Linked DNA regions of Homo sapiens: region 1 is linked to region 2. The links are contacts of gene promoters, found by promoter capture Hi-C in human tissues and cell types (Jung and others, 2019). All regions are on one chromosome and are shown on one strand. Each heading gives the region's core, a stretch centred on a gene start or on the middle of the fragment in contact. The rest is flanking DNA. Distances are from core to core; before and after follow the strand shown.

Region 1 (6,159 bases), core at 3,486-5,985, 440 kb before region 2:
TCCACGAGATCCATAGGCCCTGCCTATCTCCCAGTTCCAAATGGATGAGAGACACAAGAAGCAGAGACACCAGGCAGACCCCCTGACCTACAGTCAGAGGGAGAGCGGCCCCAGCCAACCCCAGGCAAGATCTGCTGAACCCCACGCAACTCACAGCTGCACCTGTGACAATAAGTGACGGCTGCTGAAGCCACTGAGGTCTGGGATGTTTCTTCCTCTGCTATAGCAGAATAGACCCCATTTTAGCCATGAGGAAACTGAGGCACAGAGAGGTTAAATAACCAGCCCCAGTTACACAGCTCGTAGGTTCAGCCTGCATCCATTCTGAGACAAGCCCTGTGCTCGACGCTGTGGGCCCATTCTCCAAAGGAGGCAAAGGAGCATCAGAACTGACGCGCCCAGGGGTAGGGCGTGGCTGAGCTCTGCACACAGGCACTCTGGCTCCAAGCCCAGAACTTGTGCCCTGACATCACATGACCACCTGCTAAAACCAAAGGCATTCAAGGACAAGCAAACTCTCTTCAAGGGATCCTCCACTCGTCTGCGCCAAGGTTCTTGGGCACCATCTGGGACACCCCGCACTCCCTTACTTATATACCCATCACTAAGCCCTGTCAACTTTGCCTCCAAGAGTACCTCCTGGGTCCATCCACTCCCCTGTGTATGCGCCCATCTTGGCCTTAACGTCCACGCCTGGCCCAAGCCCCGAAAGCTCTCCCTCCTCCATCAGCTCTCCTGGCACCCGCTCTTGCCGCTCCAATCCACTGTCTGCGTGGTGATACTGGAAATGCCTTCCCTGGAAAATGAGGAGAATTTGCAAGGGCCCCTCACTGCTCTGTGAATAAGAGACAAAGACTCTAACAACACCTACACCCTCTGGGCCGCCAGCCACTTCATCTCATTCCACACTCCCCTTTCTCTCTTTGCTCACTTTGCCAACTACAAGCCAGCCACAGTGCTTGTCATTGGAGACACAATTGTGAACAGAAATGGCTGAGGCCCCTGTCCTTGGGAAATTTACAGTTCATGGGTGAAAGAGATGTCGGTGGTGGAGGGAGATCACCCGCTTCTCCTCATTCACAGGGAGTACCATGGTTCCGGCCAGCTGTGGGACATCCCCTGTCTGTGATTTCACCTGCATGGATTTGCCCTTCTTCCATCATTGCCAATTCATCTCTCCTCATTCCCCAGGGCTCAGTCATATCCCAACACTTCCTGCTCTTGCACCACCCTGCATGTGGGCATCAAAGTACAAATCCCAGTGGGGGATCGCATGTCGGGAAGTGTGCGGCTATTTCATGTCTACATCTCACACTGTGCCTCTGAGACCCAGTTTTCACTCCACGTTATATTTCCAGCACCTGAGACACAGCTAGTGTCCAACATGACTGAGTAAGGGTGTAAGTGAGAGGGAAGGAAGTCCAGTTAACAATAGGACCCTGGAGTTTAAGTACATCCACTGCTTGAGATGAGTGGGCAAAGACGTAGAGGGTTCCTATGCTGGAGAGACGCGGCAGAACCCCCAGGTGGGTGGTTGCCGTAGGAACAGCCTCCGGGTCCACTTGACCATGAGGAATACAGTCCCACCACATTCCAGAGGCAATGTCAGCTCTCGACTTCTGCCAACCTGACTGCAGGGACATACTGTGAGCTGGCCCTGTGATCCCCACCTTCTGGTGGTCACAGTCTGTGCAATCTCCCCCGCCCCACCTTGGGTATGGCACTCTGTGCAATCGCTCTGTGCAGTCCTCCCCACCATCTTGGGTGTGGCACTCTGTACAATCGCTCTGTGCAGTCCCCCCACCCCCAACATCTTGGGTGTGGCACTCTGTGCAACTGCTCTGTGCAGTCCCCGCCACCATCTTGGGTGTGGCACTCTGTGCAATCACTCTGTGCAATCTCCCACCCGACCTCGGGAGTGGGCAGGACCTGTACTTTGTTTTTAATGAATAGAACACAGCCACATGTTCTATTCATGCCCACAGGAAGGCTGCAGCATCTACCTTGCTAGGAGACTCTGTCTCTCTCTCACCCTTGCTGCTAGCTGGGATGCAACAAGTGGCCGCATTGGAGTGGGGAGATGCAGGTAGTTGGCAAGGAGCTGAGGGTGGCCCCTGAGCAATGTCAGTGGATCTCAGACTTACAGACACAAAGGACTGCATCCACCCAGACGAGCCTCAGATGAGACCCTCGCCCTGGCCAATGCCTGCATTGCAGTCTGTGAGACTCAGAAGCAGATGATGCAGCTAAACCACGTCCAGACCCCCAGCACACAGAAACTTTACTATGTTGTATTAGGCTGCCAAGTTTGCATACTATTGTTCCATAGCAATAGAAAACTAGCATGTCAGAGGGGCCGGGGACTGTCCATGGGGGTTTCCCTTCTACATTTTTCCCCACTCCTGATGGGACACCTTGCTCATGGGTCAATGCCATGTGAGCTTCCCAGGGCTGCCATAACAAATCACCCCAAACCAGATGGCCTAAAACAACACATAAGCATTCTCATGCTGGAGGGCAGAACTCTAAGATGGAGGTGTCAGCAGGGCCACACTCCCTCTGAAGGCTCTAGGAAGAGACCCTCCTTGCGTCTTCCCAGCTTCTGGTGGTTCCAGCGATCCTTGGGGTTCATTGGCTTGTGGCTGCACCTCTCCCACCTCTGCCTCTGTCTTCACATGGCCTTTTTCCTCTGTGTGTGTCTGTTTCCAAAGTTCATCTTTTTATAAGGACACCAGTCACTGGATTAAGACCCACCCCACTCCAGTATGACCTCATCTTAACTGGATTATACTGCAAAGACCCTATTTCCAAATAAGGTCACATTCACAGGCATGAAGGGTTAGGACTTCAACATATCTTGTGGTGGGGGACACAATTCAACCCACAACAGATGCTGTCTTCAGACCCAGAAAACAGAGTACGTGGCTCTCTGCCAATTCCAGCCCACTGGGAAGCTGCCTGCTCTCTCCCATTCCCACGCCAACCCCCATTCATGCACCACATGTTTTCTGAACACCTATGTGTGCCACCCACTGATGGAGAAACTGGGGGGAACAAAGCCAAGACAATCCCTCCTCGCATGGAGCTTGCATTCTGCTTGGGGAGCAGTGAGAGAAAATCAACAGCAACAAATAAAGGAAACCATCTCCAATCATGGCAAATGGTATAATAATAGCAACAGCAGTGATGACAGTCATGGTGGCCGCAGTGGTTGGTGTTGCTTATTCGGTGCCAGGCATCATTCTAATTCACACACCCGAATTTGTTTTCTTCATCCTGACCACAACCCAAGTAGCTACTTATCAACCTCACTTTACAGGCAGGGAAATTGAGGCACAGAGAGCCTGCACACAACCAACAGCAGAGCCTGGATCTGAACCCAGGCAGCCAAGCTCCAGGGGTCCATTATGAAGAAAACAAAAAGGTAGAGAACAGAATAGGCTTTGAGATCTGGTGGTCTCTGAGACGGGGCTTTTGAGTCAAGACTTGAAGAAAGACTAGTAGGGGGGACTCCAGATTGGAGTGGGTGGAGGGGGAAATGCAAATGGAGGGTATCAAAATGCTAAAAGGATCTATAGCTGGAGAAGAGTTTAGACCCCACTCCCAAGGTGGAAGCTCCTGAATTACCCAGTGGTCGTACCCAACAGAGCAGACTGGTAAAACTTTCAACATTTCAAGAAAGAAGGGGTCTTGGAGATCAAGATGTCCCTGGGGAAGCCGTAACCCACACCTCACTCCCTTCTCTGTGGCGTCATCTCCAGTCTATAGCCCACCTTCTCTGTGATCAGGCCAGCCCCACTGCCTGGGGTGATTAATAGGTTTAATTTATCATTAACTTCCATGGAGCTGAGCTAGGCTGGCTGCACCTCCAGAGCAGTGTGTGGGCAGCTGCAGGGTGAGCAGAAGCCTTTGTGTACTTATTTATATTCATTTTGCACTGGGGACATTCCTAATTTGTTTGTTTTTCTCTGGTCTGGGTTCACGTACCTGAACTTGGAAGGCTGGGACTAGACCAAGAAAGGATTGGGGTTTAGAGTCCACGGAGTCAGAGAAGGACAGAGAGGGAGAGAAAGGACAGAGGACGACCTGTGAGGAGCTATCCGCGACTTACGTCTCTGTGCCTGCAGGCTGCCAAGCATCCTATTCTCGCAAATGTGGCTGGAGCAAGTTGCTGGTGCAGGCACAGTGCTCAGTACTGGTGTAGGAGAGGTGGGAGGACACTGGGAACCCTGCCTTCAGAAAGTTCCCGGAACACTGTGAAGACAGGCACATTAATGATTTCAAAGCAAGCTTGGCAGACCAGCAGGAGGAGGTGTGTGAGGCAGTGTGGGCTCAAAGGCAAGGGAAGGGCTCCTCATTTCTGGTGAGGTTTCAGAGTCTAGGACTCTGAGAGATACCCTGAAATCCAGGCATCATCTTCCCTCCTTCCCTAACTGATATACACACAATCTGGGTCAATGCGGGAGGGGAGGGTGAGAAAAAGTCTATAGCAGAGAGATTTTGAGCAGGGATGGAAGGGTGAGAGTGGGCTCTGTTTGCTGGTAGAAATGTCATGGCAGGGTGAGGCTTCATCCCTCTAGACACACACGCAAACCACGGTCTAGGGAGAAGGTACCAGACAGCTGCCAGGGGTATCCCCAAGCAGCCCTCCAAAAGCCATGGACTTCACAAGTGTGGCAGAATGGGTCTCTCTTCCCTCTCCCGCTTCCTGGACAATGTAAGATGGTATCTTTTGTCACACAATTCAAGGCTGGAAAGGAGAGACATACTCTGTATGTGATAAGACACAGGCACTCACCCAGGGAAGACAGTATTCAGCACAGTGCCTGATGTAGTTGCATGTAAGCTCCTCCCAAAAACCAGACCACTGTGAGGGGTAAGAGGGGCTGCAGGAGACAGGGCTTCTGGTGGGACTCTCTGCCCACCCACATAGGGCACCCCTGGAATCTCAGGCTGCAAATGTTGCTCAGACACTAAACCCACCCCCAATTCTCTACCACCCTATAAAAATGTGTAGCTGGAGTCTGAAATATGAGATAGAACAAACTCTGGGATTCTAGGAGCAGCAATAGAAGCAGAATAAGACGACAGGCACCAAGCAGGGAAAATGCAGGCTTTGGTTCAATGGTTTCTGCCACCTACAGTTCAGGGTTATCCCAACGCCCCCTGCGTTAAGCACAGAGGTGGAAATTCCAGGTTTTAAGTAGAGGAGAAGGGGGCAAGAAGGGGTCATACAAGAGGTTTATGCAGCCTACAATGTCAAGCTTTCATTGCTTGCTTTAATAACAGCTTTACTGAGCTATAACTCATACACTGCACAATTCCCCCACTGAAAGTGCCCATCTCAAGTGGTGTTTGGTATATCCACAGGGCTATGCAACCAGCGCCTTGACCAGCTTTAGAACACGTTCATCACTCCTCAAAGAAACCTGCACCCTTCAGCTCTCACCTCCCAAACCCATCGTCCCCAGCCCCTAGGACAACCACTGATTCACTGTCTCTAGGGATTCACTGTCTGTCTCTACAGATCTGCCTAGTCTGAAAGTTTCCTGGAATGGCCTCCTTCCTTCTCCACAGGGGTCAGCAAGCCCTCATGCCAGCTCCAACGTCACCGCTCATGGCCAGTTACTCCCTTGGTCTTCCCAAGCCTCCGCATCCTCCTCTGAAGGTGGGGCTGGTGAGGGTTCCTTCCCCACAGAGCTGCAGGGAGGATTATGGAAGTTAATGCCTATGGCAGTGTCTGGTGTCTAGCAAATGCTCAGCAAATGGTAGACAGTACATCTGCTCTTGTGTGCTTGTGCCTGGTTTACTTGCTGGGAGCCAAACCGGGCCCTCCCCTTTGATGATAAGTAACAGACAATCCAACCCACCAGGCGCGTGGAGGGCGTCAGCAGAGCCTATCTGTGAATGGAGGCATTTTTATGATCGTGCGTGTGTGGACAGTGACTGCCTCAGCTCTTGGTCAGAAAGGTCAATGCCATTGGCCCTACTGCAGGAAACTGCTTCTCAATGGCCTGAAGACAAAAGCCCCAGGTTTCCTTGTTATCCAGGAGCCTGGGCCAGGCTGGGCAAGCGTTGCAGAGCCAAGTCCGAGGCCCAGCAGGCTCCTGGCAGGCCCTGCCTCAAAGTTGGCAGCTGTTGGGTCCTGGGAGGCGGCCT
Region 2 (6,076 bases), core at 2,687-5,186:
GGAGCCTCAGATTTTGTTCAAGTTGACTGAGCACCCACTTGAGGGGTGATCAAGGATTAACAGAAGTAATGACAATGACAAGCTTCCCCTAGAACCTCTGTTCCCAGTGGTGCTCCCAAGGGGGCAAAAATGGCTCTTGGGGAGCAAAACATCCTTACCCTTTTTATGTATAAAGCACAGATAATGATACAATACACAAGCATGCAGTATATCTGCAGTATTAAAATTTTATGAAGGCTGAAAGCAGTGGCTCATGCCTGTAATCCCAGCACTTTGGGACGCTGAGGCGGAAGGATCACTTGAGCCCAGGAGTTCAAGACCAGCCTGGGCACCATAGTGAAACCCCATCTCTACAAAGAATACCCAAAAAATGGTGGTGGCGTGTGCCTATAGTCCCAGCTACTCGGGAGACTGAGGTGGGAAGATCACCTGAGCCCAGGGAGGTCGAGGCTGCAGTGAACCATGATCATACCACTGCACTCCAGCCTAAGTGACAAAGCGAGACCCTGTCTCAAAAAAATAAACAAGTAAAATAAAATTTCATGGGGCAGTACATAAGGAACCCTCATCTTCTGCCAGTGGGCACGTAAATGGCCCAGCCACTGTGGAAAACAGTCGTATGGTCCCTCATTAGGTTCAACATAGAATTATCACGTGACACAGCAATGGCATTCCCACGTATACACCCAGGAGAATGAAAAACAGGTTTTCGAACAAAAACTTGTAAACAAACATCAGTACTGTCCACAAGAATCAAATCATGGAAACAATCCAGAGGCTCATCAGTGGATGAGTGATGAACAGAATGCGGTCTGTCCACAGCTCCCACAGCCTCCCACCCGAGGTTTCCCAGGTGTCTCCTTGTTTGCTTGTTTGTTTGTTTGTTTTGAGATGGAGTCTCACTCTGTCGTCCAGGCTGGAGTGCAGGGGTGCCGTCTCGGCTCACTGCAACCTCCACCTCCCAGGTTCAAGTGATTCTCCTGCCTCAGCCTCCCTAGTAGCTGGGATTACAGCCCTGCACCATCACGCCTGGCTAAGTTTTGTATGTTTAGTGGAGTCGGGGTTTCACCATGTTGGCCAGGATGGTCTCAAACTCATAACCTCAAGTGATCCGCCCACCTCAGCCTCCCAAAGTGCTGGGATTACAGGTGTGAGCCACCACGCCCTGCTCCAGGTGTCTTGTTTTCATTTTATTTTATTTTATTTTATTTTATTTTATTTTATTTTATTTTATATTTCATTTCATTTCATTTCATTTTATATTTTGAGACAGAGTCTCACTCTGTTACCCAGGCTGCAGTGCAGTGGCCCCATCTCGGCTCACTGCAACCTCTGCCTCCCAGGTTCAAGTGATTCTCTTGCCTCAGCCTCCCAAGTAGCTGGGATTAGAGTTGCGTGCCACCACGCCTGGCTAATTTTTGTATTTTTAGTAAAGACAGGGTTTCACCACGTTGGCCATGTTGGTCTTGAACTCCTGACCTCAAGTGATCTCCCCGCCTCAGCCTCTCAAAGTGCTGGGATTACAGGTATGAGCCACCATGCCCGGCCTAGGTGTCTACTTTTGGTTTGTCATCTCCATAGTCCTCATCCTCTTAAATCATCAGAGCAGGAGGGGCTTCCCCGGGAGATGATATTATTCATCCATAAAAAAGAATAAAGTACTGACATGTGCTACAACACAGATGAACCTTGAAAACATCACGCTGAGTGAGAGAAGCCAGACACAAAAAGCCACGCATTGTATGATTCCATTTATATGAAATATCCACCGTAGGTCAAACCATAGACACAGAAAGTTGATTCATGGTTGGTAGGGGCTGGGGAGGAGGGAATAGGGAGTTTCTGCAAATGGGTATGGGATTTCTTTTCAGGGTGGCAAAAACATTCTGGAGATAGATAGTGATGGCTGCACAACTTTGTGAATATACTAAAAACCACTGTGAAACTGTACACATTTAAAAGGTGAATTTTATGGTATGTGAATAATATCTCAATAAGCCTCTTACTAAAGATTTTTCAGGATTAAAACGTCTAAAAACACTCCGGGGGTAGAAAAAAGAACAATGACGAAATTAAAAGGTGGAGAAGCCCTAACCTAGCATCTGCACATAGGGAGCATCACATACACACTTTAGTGGTGTTCTTTTGATTATTATTACAGATCTGTAATCTGTTTGCTGAAGCCCTTGGGACCAAGTATGTTTCTGAATTCAAAATTGTTGGGATTTTAGAAAGATAATGTGGTGCACATACATACAACAGCCCCAGCAAGGTTTGGGACAGCACCCAGGAAACCAACATTAACATTTCTGCAAGGAAACAGATGCGCATTCACACTGAATGAAACCAATAAGGACGCTAGGTCCTCACTCTCTGCTGTGGTTTGAATGTGTGCCCTAAAGTTCGTATGTTGGAACCTTAATTCTCAATGCAACAGTGTTGAGAGATGGAATCTTTCATGAGGCCTCTGCCCTCATGAATGGATTCATGCTGTTATTGCAAAAGCGTGTACCTGATAAAGGAATGAGTTTAGCTTCTTTCTCTTCTCTCTCTCCAGCTCTCGTGCCCTTCTGCCCTCCACCGTGGGATGATATAGCAAGAAGACCCCCACCAGATGCAACCCCTTGAACCTGGACTTCCCAGCCTCCAGAACTATGAGCCAAATGAATTTCTTTTCTTTATAAATTACTCAGTCTCAGGTATTCTGTTGTAGTAGCACAAAACTAAGACACTGCCCAGTATACCAGCTACATGTGACTATCAAGCCCCTGAAATATGGATAGTCTGAATTGAAATGTGCTTAGCCTGGCATGGTGGCTTACATCTGGAGTGCCAGCTCCTTGGGAGGCTAAAGCGCGAGGGTCCCTTGAGCCTAGGAGCTCGAGACTGCAGTGAACTATGACCACATCACTGCACTCCAGCCTGGGCAACAGAATGAGACCCTGTCTCTTAAAAATAAAATAACAAAATAAAACAATTGTGTTGTGAACATAAACTACTCATCAATTTCAAAGACTTAGTATGACAAAAATAAAAACAAATCATTTCTATATTGATTACAGATGTAATTATAATATTTTAAATAACTGGGTCAAATAAACTAGATCGTTAAAATTAACTTCACCTGCTTATTGCTGCTTTCTTAGATGTGGCTACTAGGAAATTTCGAAATGCACACATGGCTCATCTTTGTAGCTCCAATTCTATTTCAATTGGACGGTGCCCCTTTAAGGAAGTTTGCCTCAGTTCAAGGCAGACGTGCCCTCAAATGAGTTTGTTTCAAATTTATTTAAAACAAAGCCTGGGTGTGGTGGCTCCAGCCTGTAATCCCAGCACTTTGGGAGCCCAAAGAAGGTGGCTCGCTTGAGGCCAGCGGTTCAAGACCAGCCTGATCAACATAGTGAGACCCTGTCTCTATTAAAAAAAGCTACAAAAATTAGGCAACATGGTGGCACATGCCGATTGTCCCAGCTATTCAGGAGGCTGAGGCAAGAGGATCTATTGAGCCCAGGAGGTCAAGGCTACAGTGAGCTGTGATCAAACCACTGCACTCCAGCCTAGGCAAGAGAATGAGACCCTATTTCAAAAAACAAAGAAAAAAAAATTCGTTTTGCTTTCAGAGCTTTTGGATTTCTGGGTTGAATTGCAATTGCTAGATCAAAGATCTAGCCTGTGAGCCTGGAGAATCAGGGCTGAGAAGGACAGGGCGGGCAGCCCTCTCCCCAGCATCCCGTGGACAGCAGGCTCTACGCCCAGGACTGGCCTAACCTCCGCTGCCTAACCGTCATCCCCCTGCAGCCACCCTTCCCAGAGTCCTTTGCCCAGGCCACCCCAGGCTTCTTGGCAGCCCTGCCGGGCCACTTGTCTTCATGTCTGCCAGGGGGAGGTGGGAAGGAGGTGGGAGGAGGGCGTGCAGAGGCAGTCTGGGCTTGGCCAGAGCTCAGGGTGCTGAGCGTGTGACCAGCAGTGAGCAGAGGCCGGCCATGGCCAGCCTGGGGCTGCTGCTCCTGCTCTTACTGACAGCACTGCCACCGCTGTGGTCCTCCTCACTGCCTGGGCTGGACACTGCTGAAAGTAAAGCCACCATTGCAGACCTGATCCTGTCTGCGCTGGAGAGAGCCACCGTCTTCCTAGAACAGAGGCTGCCTGAAATCAACCTGGATGGCATGGTGGGGGTCCGAGTGCTGGAAGGTGAGTGAGCCCCAATTCCTCTGGCTGGACACTGGGAAGCTAGCTCTCAGCTTTGTCCCCTGCCCTGCTCTGTACGCCTGGGACCTGGCAGACTCCTGGCCCCAGTATAGCCTGCCTCGGCTATAAGGAGAGAGGAGGCCAGGGGCTGGATCTTCCTGGCGGCTGTGGCCCAGCTAACTGTTACGCAATTTTTTAGAAGTAGGAAAGATTTAAAGGCAACATGGGAAGGGATTTGGGAATTATCTTTTTCTCAGAATGAAATGATCCATTTGACAGCCCCTCCTCACAACGCCACGAACAAGGGGAGCAGGGAGAGTGCCCCGTTAACAGATATTTGTGGGAAGACCCCTCCCCTTGAATGAGGTGGCTGTGGACAAAACTGAGGACCCTCAAGATCGGGTTCCCACCCCACTTCCTCCACTTGCAGCCAAAGTCTCCTGAAGGTTCTGCAAAAACAGTCAAGTGTTTGTTTAGCTTTGAGAGCTATAAGATCCCCAAGAAGGGGGCTGGAGACAGGCCAAGGTAAACACACACATGCGCACATCATGCACACACACACAAGCACACATGCACGCACGCACACACACATGCACATCACACACACAAGCACGCATGCACGCATGCACACAAGCATATCACACACACACACAAGCACACAGGTGGCTCCCACAGGGCTGGGTGCTTCCTGGGGCGCATGTGATAGCAAAAGCTGTAGTTCACTAAGTATCTGCTCAATGTGGGCACAACCCAGGTGCATTGCATGGGGTACTTCAGTGCCCTCTCCCCGTCATCCCTGAGGTTACACCCATTATTATTATCCTCTTTTAGCAAAGAAGGGAGGGGGTTCTCTTAATCATGACTGGGCAGCATTCACTGGGAAAGCGGCCCCACCTAACAGCCTCAGACCAGGGTCCCCACTCCTTGGCAGCTGCAGTGAGCCCGGCTTCTCCACCCACGCCACATCCCACATCCACTGCCCCTTCTCCTCTCAATAATCTTGCTCCATAACAGATTCCCTAGGAATTCAGTGCTTAATACAACCACACCCGTGAACTGTGCCCAGAAGGGAGCAAAGGCAGTGCCAGTGCCTAGAACAGAGCTTCAGAACTGGACTGCCCAGGTTCAAATCCTGGATCTCCCCCAACTGGCTGCATGGCACTGAGTTAACTGCTCTCGTGGAGTTTTGGTTTCCTCATCCTTCAGCTGCAGCTGGTGGATGGGAGTATCACACGATCATGCACATGTGTCTCATGAGATTGTGTGTATATGTCATCTTACCAGTGGGGCTCAGTACTTGTCAGCCATTACTGTTTCCATCTATCAAAGCATTGAGCATCCTTGACTAGCAGCAACGGCTTCCTCACCTGTGTCTCTCTAAACAATGAGCTCCCAGTGGGCAGGGTCTACGTCCCATTGCAGTGGTCCCCAACCTTTTTGACACCAGGGACTGGTTTTGTGGAAAGCAATTTTTCCATGGACTGAGGTGGAGGGGAGGGTTTCAGGACAATTCACGTGCATTAAATTTATTGTGCACTTTATTTTTTATTTATTATTATTATTATATTATTATTATTTTGAGACGGAGTCTCGCTCTGTCGCCCAGGCTGCAGTGCAGTGGTGCCACCTCAGCTCACTGCAACCTCCACCTCCAGGTTCAAGCGATTCTCCTGCTCAGCCTCCCAAATAGCTGGGACTACAGGTACCCACCACCACGCCCGGCTAATTTTTGTATTTTTGGTAGAGATGAGGTTTTACCATGTTGGCCATGCTGGTCTTGAACTCCTGGACTTAAGTAATCCACCTGCCTCGGCCTCGCAAAGTGCTGGGATTACAGGCGTGAGCCACCGTGCCCAGCCCACTTTCTGTTTATTGTTATTATGTTATA

What was found. Contacts are between HindIII fragments. The study calls those that stand out against the background at their distance.
Region 1: a fragment that was not itself captured here is called in contact with the fragment with the promoter of C16orf89 in region 2 in 1 of the 25 tissues and cell types used here (dorsolateral prefrontal cortex).

Annotation. Positions count from the first base shown.
Region 1 is chr16:5,504,268-5,510,426 of GRCh38, reverse strand. It overlaps a transcript of RBFOX1 not described here. Among named protein-coding and RNA genes, the nearest start is that of LINC01570, 110 kb to the left of the region's middle. The HindIII fragment of the contact is 5,460 bases long and covers 2,006-6,159 here.
Region 2 is chr16:5,063,816-5,069,891 of GRCh38, reverse strand. It overlaps C16orf89 (chromosome 16 open reading frame 89), which reads left to right and starts at 3,936. Exons shown (of 8, transcript NM_001098514.3): 1 at 3,936-4,191. The coding sequence starts at 3,984. The HindIII fragment of the contact is 22,288 bases long and covers 1-6,076 here.